Linked DNA regions of Homo sapiens: regions 1, 2 and 4 are each linked to region 3. The links are contacts of gene promoters, found by promoter capture Hi-C in human tissues and cell types (Jung and others, 2019). All regions are on one chromosome and are shown on one strand. Each heading gives the region's core, a stretch centred on a gene start or on the middle of the fragment in contact. The rest is flanking DNA. Distances are from core to core; before and after follow the strand shown.

The links. The method cuts DNA at HindIII sites, captures the fragments that hold promoters and counts their contacts. A contact is called where the count stands out against the background at its distance.
Region 1: a contact is called between the fragment with the promoter of DHDDS here and the fragment with the promoter of NR0B2 in region 3, in 1 of the 25 tissues and cell types used here (aorta).
Region 2: a fragment that was not itself captured here is called in contact with the fragment with the promoter of NR0B2 in region 3 in 1 of the 25 tissues and cell types used here (liver).
Region 4: a contact is called between a fragment that was not itself captured here and the fragment with the promoter of NR0B2 in region 3, in 2 of the 25 tissues and cell types used here (IMR-90 fibroblasts and liver).

What each region holds. Positions count from the first base shown.
Region 1 is chr1:26,430,756-26,433,676 of GRCh38, forward strand. It overlaps DHDDS (dehydrodolichyl diphosphate synthase subunit), which reads left to right and starts at 1,566. Exons shown (of 9, transcript NM_205861.3): 1 at 1,566-1,621; 2 at 2,136-2,253. The coding sequence starts at 2,191. It overlaps LOC124903883 (a long non-coding RNA gene), which reads right to left and starts at 1,482. Exons shown (of 2, transcript XR_007065557.1): 1 at 1,218-1,482; 2 at 1-363. RefSeq lists enhancers at 785-1,321, 1,106-1,165, 1,236-1,295, 1,322-1,858, 1,396-1,885. The HindIII fragment of the contact is 9,291 bases long and covers 1-2,921 here.
Region 2 is chr1:27,274,324-27,277,336 of GRCh38, forward strand. All of the region lies in intron 3 of WDTC1 (WD and tetratricopeptide repeats 1), which reads left to right. Among named protein-coding and RNA genes, the nearest start is that of WDTC1, 41 kb to the left of the region's middle. The HindIII fragment of the contact is 7,092 bases long and covers 1-3,013 here.
Region 3 is chr1:26,912,117-26,915,317 of GRCh38, forward strand. NR0B2 (nuclear receptor subfamily 0 group B member 2) reads right to left here and starts at 1,859. Exons shown (of 2, transcript NM_021969.3): 1 at 1,293-1,859. The coding sequence starts at 1,824. It also overlaps a transcript of NUDC not described here. The HindIII fragment of the contact is 33,061 bases long and covers 1-3,201 here.
Region 4 is chr1:26,605,458-26,608,542 of GRCh38, forward strand. No RefSeq gene overlaps it. Among named protein-coding and RNA genes, the nearest start is that of MIR1976, 52 kb to the left of the region's middle. The HindIII fragment of the contact is 7,565 bases long and covers 1-3,085 here.

The DNA of each region.
Region 1 (2,921 bases), core at 316-2,815, 480 kb before region 3:
TCTTTGACAATTGTGAATTTTTATTCCACTCAAAACATAATACTACATAAAGTTGTATTATGCTTTGCAAGAAATACTGGTTGTGGCCGGGCGCGGTGGCTCACGCCTGTAATTCCAGCACTTTGGAAGGTCTAGGCAGGCAGATAACGAGGTCAAGAGATCAAAACCATCCTGGCCAAAATGGTGAAACCCTGTCTCTACTAAAAATACAAAAATTAGCCAGGCTTGGTGGCACGCGCCTGTAGTCCCAGCTACTCAGGAGGATGAAGCAGGAGAAACGCTTGAACCCGGGAGGCGGAGGCTGCAGTGAGCCGAGATCGCGCCACTGCACTCCAGCCTGGGCGACATAGCCAGACTCCGTCTCTAAATAAATAAATAAATAAATAAATAAATAAAAATAATACTGGTTGTATAAGAATCTGTAAAGAATTTTTTCCTCCTCTTTCAATTTTGAGAAAATTGAACTACAAATTTGTTTTGTGAGCCTAGAATTCTTGCAACCCTTTTTTTCGTAAAGGTTCAGTAGAGCTAATGCCCTTAACTTTTCTACCAGGGTTAATTTCTGTTATTTTCATTTATGTACTGCCAAAGCGAGCACCTTTCTGTTATTTTAGAAGTCATGCTTTTTTTTTTTTTCTTTTTTCAGACAGAGTTTCGCTCCTGTTGCCCAGGCTGGAGTGCAGTGGCCTGATCTTGGCTCACCGCAACCTCCGCCTCCCGGGTTCAAGCGATTCTCTTGCCTCACCCTCCCGAGTAACTGGGATAACAGGCGCCCGCCACCACGCCCGGCTCATTTTCTGTATTTTTAGTACAGACGGGGTTTCACGATGTTGGTCAGGCTGGTCTCAAACTCCTGACCTCAGGTGATCCGTTCGCCTCGGCCTCCCAAAGTGCTGGGATTACAGGCGTGAGCCACCGCGCCTGGCCTAGAAGTCATTCTTATGGCAGAAATCTTTCTGGCCTTACCCCTTCTCTTGAGTTCGTTGGGATAGGTCTTGGGAATCCACAAATCCTAAAATATGCGTGCCTTAAGTCGGCACAAAATAGATTAATATTCTGCGCGTCTGTAAGATTGGCTGCGGCTAGAAACTCCTTCCCAGACGATTAAATCCACTAAATAAAATACGAAACGGTAACGAGATAATTTTTAAGAGTATGCACCAGTGCTCTAATGAAGCCCGGTTCTGCGGCATTCCAAGGTAAGGACGCTGCCTTACCCAGTCTCTCAGCAGTCCTAAGCTGCCTTCGACGGCCGAGAAGCGCCTCGATTCTTGCCCCTGGCTCATTTCCCTGGCGCGTTTTCCAGACGCCTCCGCTCCCAACGCTGGGCTCAACCCTGTCTTCCCCAGCTGGTCTCCCAGCACGTGGCCTGGAGCCCAGCCTCCCGCCCCGCTCGGTCACGTGAGCCTGGCTCTCACCCGCGCCGGCTTCCACACCCCGCGGGACTGAGAACCGCCCTCCCACTAGCTCGCAGGCGCAGGCGCAGGGCAGGGTCCCCTCAGTTTGGGTGACGGAAGGGGCGTGTCGCAGCGCCCAAAGATGACGTGTTCTGCCAGCGCCACGTCATGAGGAAGTGCCGGCCCACTGAAGCCGTGGGGACGCGCCCAGCGGAGCTAATCAGGTGCCACTGAACTGAAGGGGTGAACTAGAGGAGAAGAGGGTGACTGGGCGGGGAGCAGCTGCGGGAGAAGCAAAGGGACGACTGAGGGAATAATCAGGAGACCACTGAGGCGTGAAGTACTAGGCGTGCGATAACTGAAGGAGTTAGTAACTGGGAGCACAGAGTTGGAAACAGCTTAGGGGAAGATGGAGAAGGAAGAAACGGGGAATGATCAAGATGTGGGCACCATGATGTGGCAGGAAACCGACTTAGATGTTCAGAAGAAGTCAGTGCAGATACGGAGGAAATGGGAATGGGAAGAAGTCTGCAAAGCCAGGAGAACCGAGGAAAGGCTTTTGCCTCCAGAGGTCACATTGCGTTATAAAACTCTGGGTGGTAAAAGATTATAGGCTTAGACCAGTGTCTTTGGATTCTAATGCTGGCTGCTCTCCATAGTCCATCTGATTCCCCAGAAGTCAGTTATAGCTCTTCGCAAACCTTGGTGACTTCTTATTTTCTTTCTTGTTTATCCAAGATTACCTGGCTGGTGTTTGCTTGTTCTGGAGTGATCTTCTGACTGGAAAAGAACTATGTCATGGATCAAGGAAGGAGAGCTGTCACTTTGGGAGCGGTTCTGTGCCAACATCATAAAGGTGAGCAATGGCCCAGAGCACCGGTTGGCCTTCTGGTCAGTTGGATAATCTTATATAAAAACCTGTTATTAAAGTTGATGATGTTAAGTGCAATTCATGATGTTAAGTGGAATTTAGCAAGGAAACCAAAGAGTCTTAGAATGGTAACTTCCAGGTCTACATTTCTGGTAGACTTTTGTCCTAACTCTGATATTTTCTGGAAGCCCAGGCCTCTTAATGTCACTGGGCAGCCTAGACTGCTAAGTATTCTTTATAGAGAACTGAAATTTGTTTCCCTGGAACATTGATCCATTGTTCCATGTACTGTCTTCTTGATTTAAATAGGTTAATCTTTGATATATTCTTTGATCTGTCAGTAGAGCTGGGCCCGGTCACTCACGCCTGTAATCCCAGCAATTTGGGAGGCTGAGGTGGGCAGATTGTTTGAGCTCAGGAGTTGAGACCAGCCTGGGCAACATGGCAAAACCCCGATTCTCCAAAAAATTAAAAAAATAGCAGGGCTTGGTGGTGTGCACCTGTAGTCCCAGCTACTCGGAAGGCTGAAGTGGGAGAATTTCTTGAGCCCAGGTCAAAGCTGCAGTGAGTCATGATTGTGCCACCACACTCCAGCCTGGGTGACAGAACGGGACTGTCTCAAAAAAAAGAGTTCAGAACAAGACTCTGTCTCA
Region 2 (3,013 bases), core at 385-2,884, 360 kb after region 3:
GAAAAGAAAATACAGAGAACTGGCTGGGGCACAGTGGCTCATGCCTATAACCCCATACTTTGGCAGTCAGGAGAATCATTTGAGGCCAGGAGTTTGAGACCAGCCTGGGCAACACAGCAAGACCCCATCTCCATAAAACATTTTTTAAAAGTAAAAGAAAATACAAAGAACTGTTGTAGTGGCAGCAACCAAGTAAGAGAGCCAGAAGGGAGGTTGAGATTAAACAATTTAAATTTAAATTAATGAGGATTAATTTAAGCCGTTCTAGTATATAAGACCCAATCAGTTTTCCACTTTCCTTGGACATTTTTGCTGAGCATTCCACATCCCTCTTTAGTTACATGTGCCAGCTCATCTCATGAGTTTTATTGTCACAACTGACAAGAACCAAATATCCTGGGATTCCAGCCATGGCCTGCAGTCCTCACTTTTTTGGGGAGTTGCTTGCTTTCATTTTGTATGTATTACCAGGGATCTCCCAAGATCACCTTGGAAGTTGTGATCACACTTTGATTCCTGCTATTTCATTCACTTGTGGGATTTCTTGGCACCGTATTAGACACATGGTAGAGAGAAGAAGAAAGGAATCTCACTTTACAAATCAGAGTAAAACTCAGCATTTCTAAGGTCAGATAAGTGGTAGAAATAAGATTTAAAAGATTTATATCAGGCTTATCTGGCTGCAGAGTTCATATCCTTTCCACCTCAACCATATGTCTGTTTTAAAAATGGCTTAATAGATAGTTCCTGGCTTGGTGGATTTATTCTCTTGCCTTATTAGTTTTCTTCATATTATCCTTAAACAATTGCAAACATTATGTATCTATCTCACCTTTACAATCTGGCCTGCTTGCTTTTTCCATTTTGTTTCTTATATTATTTTAGCATACATTCAAATTATGAATTTATGGAAACAAGTCATATGAAACTAGATTGATTTCCTTTGTGAATAGCTTTGGTAGACCAGAGCAGTTCCATGGGCATAGTGTAACCTTATTCTAACAAAGACTTGTCAGAGCTTTTTAAGGTAATACCATTTTAGAGAAGTAAACTAGATACCAAGTTCATTAAACAGTCATGTTTAAAGAAAAAGATGCCAGCCTGGCCAACATGGTGAAACCCCTTCTCTACTAAAAATACGAAAAATTAGCCAAGCATGATGGCAGGCACCTGTAATCCCAGCACTTGGGAGGCTGAGGCAGGAGAATTGCTTGAACCCAGGAGGCGGAGGTTGCAGTGAGCCGAGATTGCACCACTGCACTCTAACCTGGGCGACAGAGTGAGACTCTGTCTCAAAAAAAAAAAAAAAATAAAGAAAAAGATGGAGCGGGGATCTGACTTTGTGAGAGATTTCCTTTCGTGAGGACTGTCCTTTAAATCCAGATCAGCAATTTGTGGCCAGTGGGCCAAATCCAGAATGTCGCCTGTTTGCTTGTTTGTTATTTTATTTAATTGAGTGGTTTTGACTATTCACAAACTATACTCACAAAGTTTTGCAACCATCCCTGCTATCTAATTCCAGGATGTTTTCATCACCCCAAAAAGGAACCTCTTACCCATCTTAGCAGTCACTTCCTTCTCCCATACTGGCCCTACCCCAGAAACCACTAATCTATTTTCTGTTGCAATGGATTTTCCTATTCTGAACATTTCACGTAAATGAAATTATAAAGTGTGTGGCTTTTTAGCATAATGCTTTTAAGATTCATCTATGTTATAGTATGAATCTGTACTTCTCTTTTTTGCGGCCAAATAGCATTCCATCATTTGGATGTACCACATTCTGTCTATCCATTCATCAGTTGGTGGAACATGTGGTTGTTTCTATTTTTTGGCTATTATAAATAATGCTGCTATGAACCTTCATGTACAAGTTTTTGTGTGGACATGTTTTCTTCACTTTTCTTGGTATATACCGAAGGGTGGAATTGCTGGGTCATATGGTAACTCAGTGTTTAACTTTTTTGAGGAACTGCCAAACTGTTTTCCAAAGTGGTACCACCATTTTACATTCCCACCAGAAATGTGTGAGGGTTCCAATTTGTCTGCATCCTTGCCAACACTTCTTATTATCAATATTTTTTATTATAGGCCAGGCGCGGTGACTTATGCCTATAATCCCACACTTTGGGAGGCCGAAGCAGGCAGATCACAAGGTCAGGAGATTGAGACCATGCTGGCTAACACAGTGAAACCCCATCTCTACTAAAAATACAAAACTTAGCCAGGTGTGGTGGCACACACCTGTAGTCCCAGCTACTTGGGAGGCTGAGGCAGGAGAATTGCTTGAACCCAGGAGGAGGAGATTGCAGTGAGCCGAGATTGCGCCACTGCACTCCAGCCTGGGTGACAGAGCAAGACTTCGTCTCGAAAAAAAAAAAGAAAAGAAAAAAAAATTTTTTTTTTATTATAGCCCTCCTGGTGGGTGTGAAGTGGTATCTCATTGTGGTTTTGATTTTCATTTCCCTAATGACTAATGATGTTGAGCATGTTTTCATGTGCTTGTTGTCATATTTGTGTATTTTCTTTGGAGAAATGTCTGTTGAGATGCTTCACTCATTTTTTAATTGGGTTGTCCTTTTTTATTGTTGAGTTATAAGATATGTATGATTTGAAATTTTGTTTCTTTTCCTTTGTGTGTTGTCTTTTCATTTTTAAATGGTGACTTTGCATAAAAGTTTTAATTTTAATGAAATTCAATTTATGTTTTATTTTTTTTTTTTAATTGATATGGGATCTGTCTCTGTAACCCTCACTGGAGTGCAGTGGCACAGTCATGGCTTACTGCAGCCTTACCCTCCCAGGCTCAAGCAATCCTCCCATCTCACCCTCTTGAGTAGCTGGGACTGCAGGCGCACACCACCATGCCCAACTAAACTTTTTTTCTTTTGTTGCTGGTGCTTTTGGTGTTGTGTCTTAAAAAACATTGCCTAATCCAAGGTCATGAATATATACACCTGTGTTTTCTTCTAAGAGTTTTGTAGTTTTAGATTTTATATGTAGGTCTTTGATC
Region 3 (3,201 bases), core at 609-3,108:
GAGCACCCTACTCCCAGCCACCAAAGGACAAGACTGGCCCAAGATCTGGGCCATCAGAGACACCCCTCTGCCTCCTTTGCTCGGCCTTTGAGGTCCCACTACTACCTCCTCCTTTAGAGGAGGTAATTTATTTATCAATTTTCAATGTATTCATCCATCCATTTATGAAGAGGCAGTGTGGAGTAATGGTTAAGAATTAGGCTTCCTGGGTATGAATCCCAGCACTGTCACTTATTAGCTGGGTGACCTTGGGCAAGTCACTTAATCTCTGGGCTTCAGTTTCTTTATCTGTAAAACGGGAATAATAATATTAATAGGACCTGTCTCCTAGGCTTTTATGAGATTTAAATGAACTAGTATATGTAAAACCCTTAGAATAGGGCCTAACATATGGTAAGTGTGATATGAGTATTTGCTACTATTATTACAATTAATTACTACGATTTATGCGTGCCACAAGGGACTCCTGGGGAACTCTCATCTCAGATGCTCTCCAGATTACAAACAGCACTGTCTCCATCTGCCGCTCTCCTGGCCGAATTCCATAAAGACTCCTTTCCTGTCCTCCCTACGCCCCTTTCAGTCATCTCTTCTATGTGATCTTTCTGAACCCACAGAGGAGTTTTAGCTCTAGAGCTTCACCATGCAGCCTTCCTTTGAGGATGTGACTGAGACACAGCTGTGTCTGCCCACCCCACCTCCCCACAGCCTTCTGTAAAGGTCAGAGCAAATTTCTCAGGCAGAGTGGCAAGGGCCAGTCTCTGGAGTGAATAGACCTGAGTTGCCATCCTGGTCTGTCCCTACCTGGCTGTGTTACCTTTAGCTAGTCACTTAGCTTCTCTGTGCCTCTTCTGTGAGATGGCTATTTGATGAAAATGAGGACTGGCCAAGCACGGTGGCTCACGCCTGTAATCCCAGCACTTTGGGAGGCCAAGGTGGGTGGATCACCTGAGGGGTTAGGAGTTCAAGACCAGCTTGATCAACATGGTGAAAGCCCATCTCTACTAAAAAGTACAAAAATTAGCCGGGAGTGGTGGCGGCCATCTGTAATCCCAGCTACTCGGGAGGCTGAGGCAGAGAAAATTGCTTGAACCCAGGAGGCAGAGGTTGCAGTGAGCCAAGATCGCACCACTGCACTCCAGACTGGGTGACAGAGTGAGACTCTGTCTCAGAAAAATAAAAAGAAAATGAGGACCCAATGAGATAACAGATATCAAACCCTTAGAAGCTACCTTCCCTGGCTGGCCCCTGCTTCAGCCTTGCCCCCCACCCAGGAGTGTCTGGGAGCTCACCGGGGTTGAAGAGGATGGTCCCTTTCAGGCAGGCATATTCCTTGGGGCTAAGCTCCAGGCTCCAGAAGGACTCCAGACAGCATTGAAGCCACTGCACCGCAGCCAGGGAGGGCTGGGGTCTGTCTGGCAGTTGGCCACTGCCTCCACTGCTGCTGGGCTCCTCCAGCAGAATCTTCTTGAGTATGCTGGGCACCGGGGCCTCAGCCACCTCAAAGGTCACAGCATCTTGGGCCAACCCAAGCAGGAAGAGGGGGCCCCAGCAACCCTGCAGCAGCCGCCGCTGGTCCTGGGGAGGCAGCTGCCAGAAGGATGGCAGGTTCCTGAGGAAGGCCACTGTCTTGGCCAGAACATCCAAGGCCTCCCGGCAGGTGCGATGAGGTGCACATAGCTGGACGGGCCGGTGCTGCCTACATAGGCAGCGGCTACGGGGTCGGGGGACAGCCTTGAGGCTGGAGCTCAGAAGTGCGTAGAGAATGGCGGGGCGGCTTGCAGCTCCCTGGCATGGGCAGGCCCCTGGTTGGCTGGTGCTCATGGTTAGGGATCTGCTCTCACTTCCAGCTCTCTGGCTCTGTGTTCTGCGCTGTGGGTGCTATTTATATTCCCAGTGAGTGGAACGGGGGGAATGGCCCAACAACCTTGACTCCAGAAGTCATGTTCATTGAAAAAAACACACAGACATTGCCCCTGGCAGGAATGGTGGGGAAGTGGTGGGGGAGGGGGCATTGGGAACCCCACGTGGCACTGATATCACCTCAGTCAATGAAGTGGCCGGTGCAGGGCACAGGGCCACCTGCCGCTCACTCAGCTGCCCCTTATCAGATGACTCAAGTGGATAAACAAGGTCATTAACTCAGGCTGTACCAGGGCACCAAGGCCCCAGGTGCACAATCAGCAGGTGTCCCCATTGGTGCCCGCTCTTGTGTGCACAAAAGACTAGGGCTTTTGCTAAGCCAGGAAGCCAGCCCCAGAGCTGGGTGGGCCTTGAATGCAAGGCCCAACCTGGAAGTGCCTTATCACTAGCTTGTTTGCCTAACCTTGGGGCCCTGCTTCTGTTGTCAGCCAGAAGCAGGCTACAGGGAAGGGAGCCAGGACCCTGGGGGCTGGGAGGACTTTGCCCACTGTCCAATCTAGGAGGCCTCCTCCTCTGATTCCAGTTCTGGGCCCCCTGCAGGAATAAGGTCCTTCAGAATCCTTATCCCCAGCCTGATTCCTACCACTCCTGAAAGGCCAGGTCTGCTGAGAAGAACTCACAGAATTATAATAAAAGATAGTTGCCAGCCGGGCACGGTGGCTCATGCCTGTAATCCCAGCACTTTGGGAGGCTGAGGAAGGGGGATCATTTGAGGTCAGGAGTTCAAGACCAGCCTGGCCAACATGGCAAAATCCCGTCTCTACTAAAAATACAAAAATTAGCCGGGCATGGTGGCATGTGCCTGTAGTCCCAGCTACTCTAGAGGCTAAGGCAAAAGAATCACTCGAAACTGGGAGGCAGAGGTTACAGTGAGCTGAGATCATGCCACTGCTCTCCAGCCTGGGCAACAGAGCAAGATCCTGTCTCAAAAAAATATATATGTATATGTATATGTATATGTATATGTATATGTATATTTATATGTATATGTGTATATATATATACACATACATACATACATATATATATATATATATGTATATATATGGTTGCCATTCTCTAAGCACTTATTATGTGTCAGGCACTTCCCACTCTAATATTGGCAGCCTCTTCCTAAGGCTAGATTCTTACTTTATGAGACTAAAAAAGCTAAAGTGACTTGCCCAAGGTCATCCCACCAGGAAGACAAAGCCCAGATCTTGCCTGACTCCAAAGTCCTTGTTTGTTTCCCTGGACCCACTGGCCCAATTGCACAGCCAGAGCCTGAGATTCTCAGAG
Region 4 (3,085 bases), core at 254-2,753, 310 kb before region 3:
TGAAAACATCGGTCCTATTCTTTAGTCAACTGCCTCTATTCACCTACTATGTGCCAGGCAGTGTTATCAGAGCTGAAAACAGTGTTCTAAGAACAGAAAATAAAATAAAGTTCTTATTCTCATGCAACTTACATTCTAATGGGAAGGATCAAAATAATAAGTAAGTAGACCTATAGTGTATTAAATGATAATGAGGGTATTGAGAATCATAAAGCAGTGTTAAGGGAGATAGAAATTATGGTTTGAGCAGAGTCTTTTTTTTTTTTTTTTTTTTGAGATGGAGTCTCACTCTCTTGCCAGGCTGGAGGGCAATGGTGTGATCTCAGCTCAATGCAACCTCCGACTCCCTGGTTCAAGCAATTCTCCTGCCTCAGCCTCCTGAGTAGCTGGGATTACAGGCACGCGCCACCATGCCCAGCTAATTTTTTGTATTTTTAGTACAGATGGGGTTTCACCATGTTGTCCAGGATGGTCTCGATCTCCTGACCTTGTGATCTGCCCGCCTCGGCCTCCCAAAGTGTTGGGATTACAGGTGTGAGCCACCGCGCCCGGCTGGACAGAGTTTTTTTAGTTTACAAAGGGTAGACAGAAAGAACTCACTGATGAGGTGATTTGAGCTGAGACATAAAAGAAGAGGGAGAACAAGCCATATAAATATGAGGGGGAGGAGCTTGCCAGGCAGAGGGCACAGCAAATGCACAGGTCCTGACACAGGAGTTTCCTTGTTGAAGGAGACCAATTGTAGCTAAATAGAATAAGCCAAGGGAAAGATGTAAGAGAGGTCAGGAAAGTGGGAGTGGAGGGGACAGACTTGTAAGGCCTTGTAAATCATTGTGGGGTCTTTGTTTATTTTGTTTTGTTTTGTTTTAGACAGACTCTCGCTCTTTTGCCCAGGCTGGCTGAAGTGCAGTGGCACAGTCTTGGCTCATTGCAACCTCCGCCTCCCAGGTTCAAGCGATTCTCCTGCCTCAGCCTCCCAAGTAGCTGGGATTACAGGTGTGCACCACCACACTCAGCTAACTTTTATATTTTTAGTAGAGACAGGGTTTCACCATGTTGGCCAGGCTGGTCTTGAACTCCTGGGCTCAAGTGATCTGCCCGCCTTTGCCTCCCAAAGTGCTGGGATTACAGGTGTGAGCCACTGTGCTCGACCTCTCTGTTTTTTATTCTGAGTGAGATGAGAAGCCACTGGAGGGTTTTTAGTAGGGGAAAGACTTATGTTTTATGATATGACATAAAATTATTTAATTTTTTTACAACGGGGTCACCCAGGCTGGAGTGTAGTGGCGCAGTCATAGCTCACTGCAGCCTTGAACTCCTGGGCTCAAGTGATCCTCCTGCCTCAGTCTCCTAAGTAGTTAGGACTACAGGTGTGAACCACTATGCCAGCTAATTTTAAAATTTTTTTGAAGAGATCGGGTTTCACTATGTTGCCCAGGCTGGTCTCAAACTCCTGGCCTCAGGTGATCCTCCTGTCTTGGCCTCCCAAAACACTGGGGTTACAGGCACAGGCCACCACACTCAGCCTCTAAAAAAATTTATGGGTACATAATAGTTGTAAATATGATTTATGTTTTTAAAGGATTATTATGGCTGCTGTGTAGAAAATAGAAGGTAGGAGTGGAAGAGCTGAAGCAGGGAGACCAGTTAGGAGGCAATTGCAGGAATCAAAGCAAGAAATAATGGTGGCTTGGGTCAGGGTGATAGCAGTGCAGGTGGTGACAAGTGGTCATATTTTGGACGTAGAGGTGCCAGGATTTGCTGATGGATATGATGAGGAATATAAGAGAAATAGAGAGGAGTCAAGAATATTGTGAAGCTTTTGGCCCAAGCAAGTATTAGATAATAGTGGAAAGAACAGAGTCCTTGAATCAGAGGCTGTGAGAGACTAAATCTCAATTCCACGGTTTATGGATTGTGTAATCTTGGGCAAGTCACCGAACCTCTCTGAGCATCAGTTTCTTCATCAGTAAGAAACCTTTTGAAATATTGTGGCTCTAGGATCTTCTCAATTCTCTCTTTGTTAACTTACCATTCTCTAATGGCTTCTCACTGTATTTAGAATAAAATACAAACTCCTTTGAGGTCCAAGAAAGCCCTGTATGGACTGGCCTCACCTACCTCTCCAACCTGTCAGCTACATTGAGCTTCTTTTTGTGTTCGTCTGGTAACAAATAGAACCTGGTAACCCAACCCCTGCCCTCCCCTCCCCTCTCCTCTCTTTCTTTCTTTCTTTCTTTCTTTTTTTTTTTTTTTTTTTTTGACAGGGTCTTGCTCCATCACCGAGGCTGAAGTGCAGAAGTGAGATCAGAGATCATGTCACAGCTCACTGCAGCCTTGACCTCCCAGGTTCAAGTGATCCTCCCACTTCAGCCTCCTGAATTGCCGGGACTATAGGCACATGCCACCACACTCAACTAATTAAAAAAAAAAAATTGTAGGCTGGGCACAGTGGTTCATGCCTGTAATCCCAGCACTTCGGGAGGACGAGGAAAGCAGATCACTTGAGGCCAGGAGTTTGAGACCAGCCTGGCCAACATAGTGAAACCCCGTCTCTACTTAAAATACAAAAAATTAGCCAGGTGTGGCAGCTCGCGCCAATAGTTCCAGCTACTCTGGGGCTAAGGCGGGAGAATCGCTTGAACCCAAGAGGCAGAGGCTGCAGTGAGCCGAGATCATGCCACAGAAGTCCAGTCTGAGAGACAGAGCAAGACCCCTCTCAAAAAAAAAAAAAAAAAAAAAAAAAAATATATATATATATATATATATATTTGTAGACACTGGGGGGTCTCCTTATGTTGCCCATTTGAATTCCTGGGCTCAAGTAATCCTCCCACCTTGGCCCCACAAAGTGCTGGGATTACAGGCATGAGCCACTGCACCCGGCCAGAATTTGATAACTTTCCATCTTTTTTTTTTTTTATTTTCAAGAGGGAGTTTCGCTCTTGTTGTCCAGGCTGGAGTATAATGGTGCGATCTCGGCTCACTGCAACCTCTGCCTCCCAGGTCCAGGGGATTTTCCTGCCTCAGCCTCCCGAGTAGCTGGGATTACAGGTGTGTGCCACCATGCCCGGCTAATTTTTGC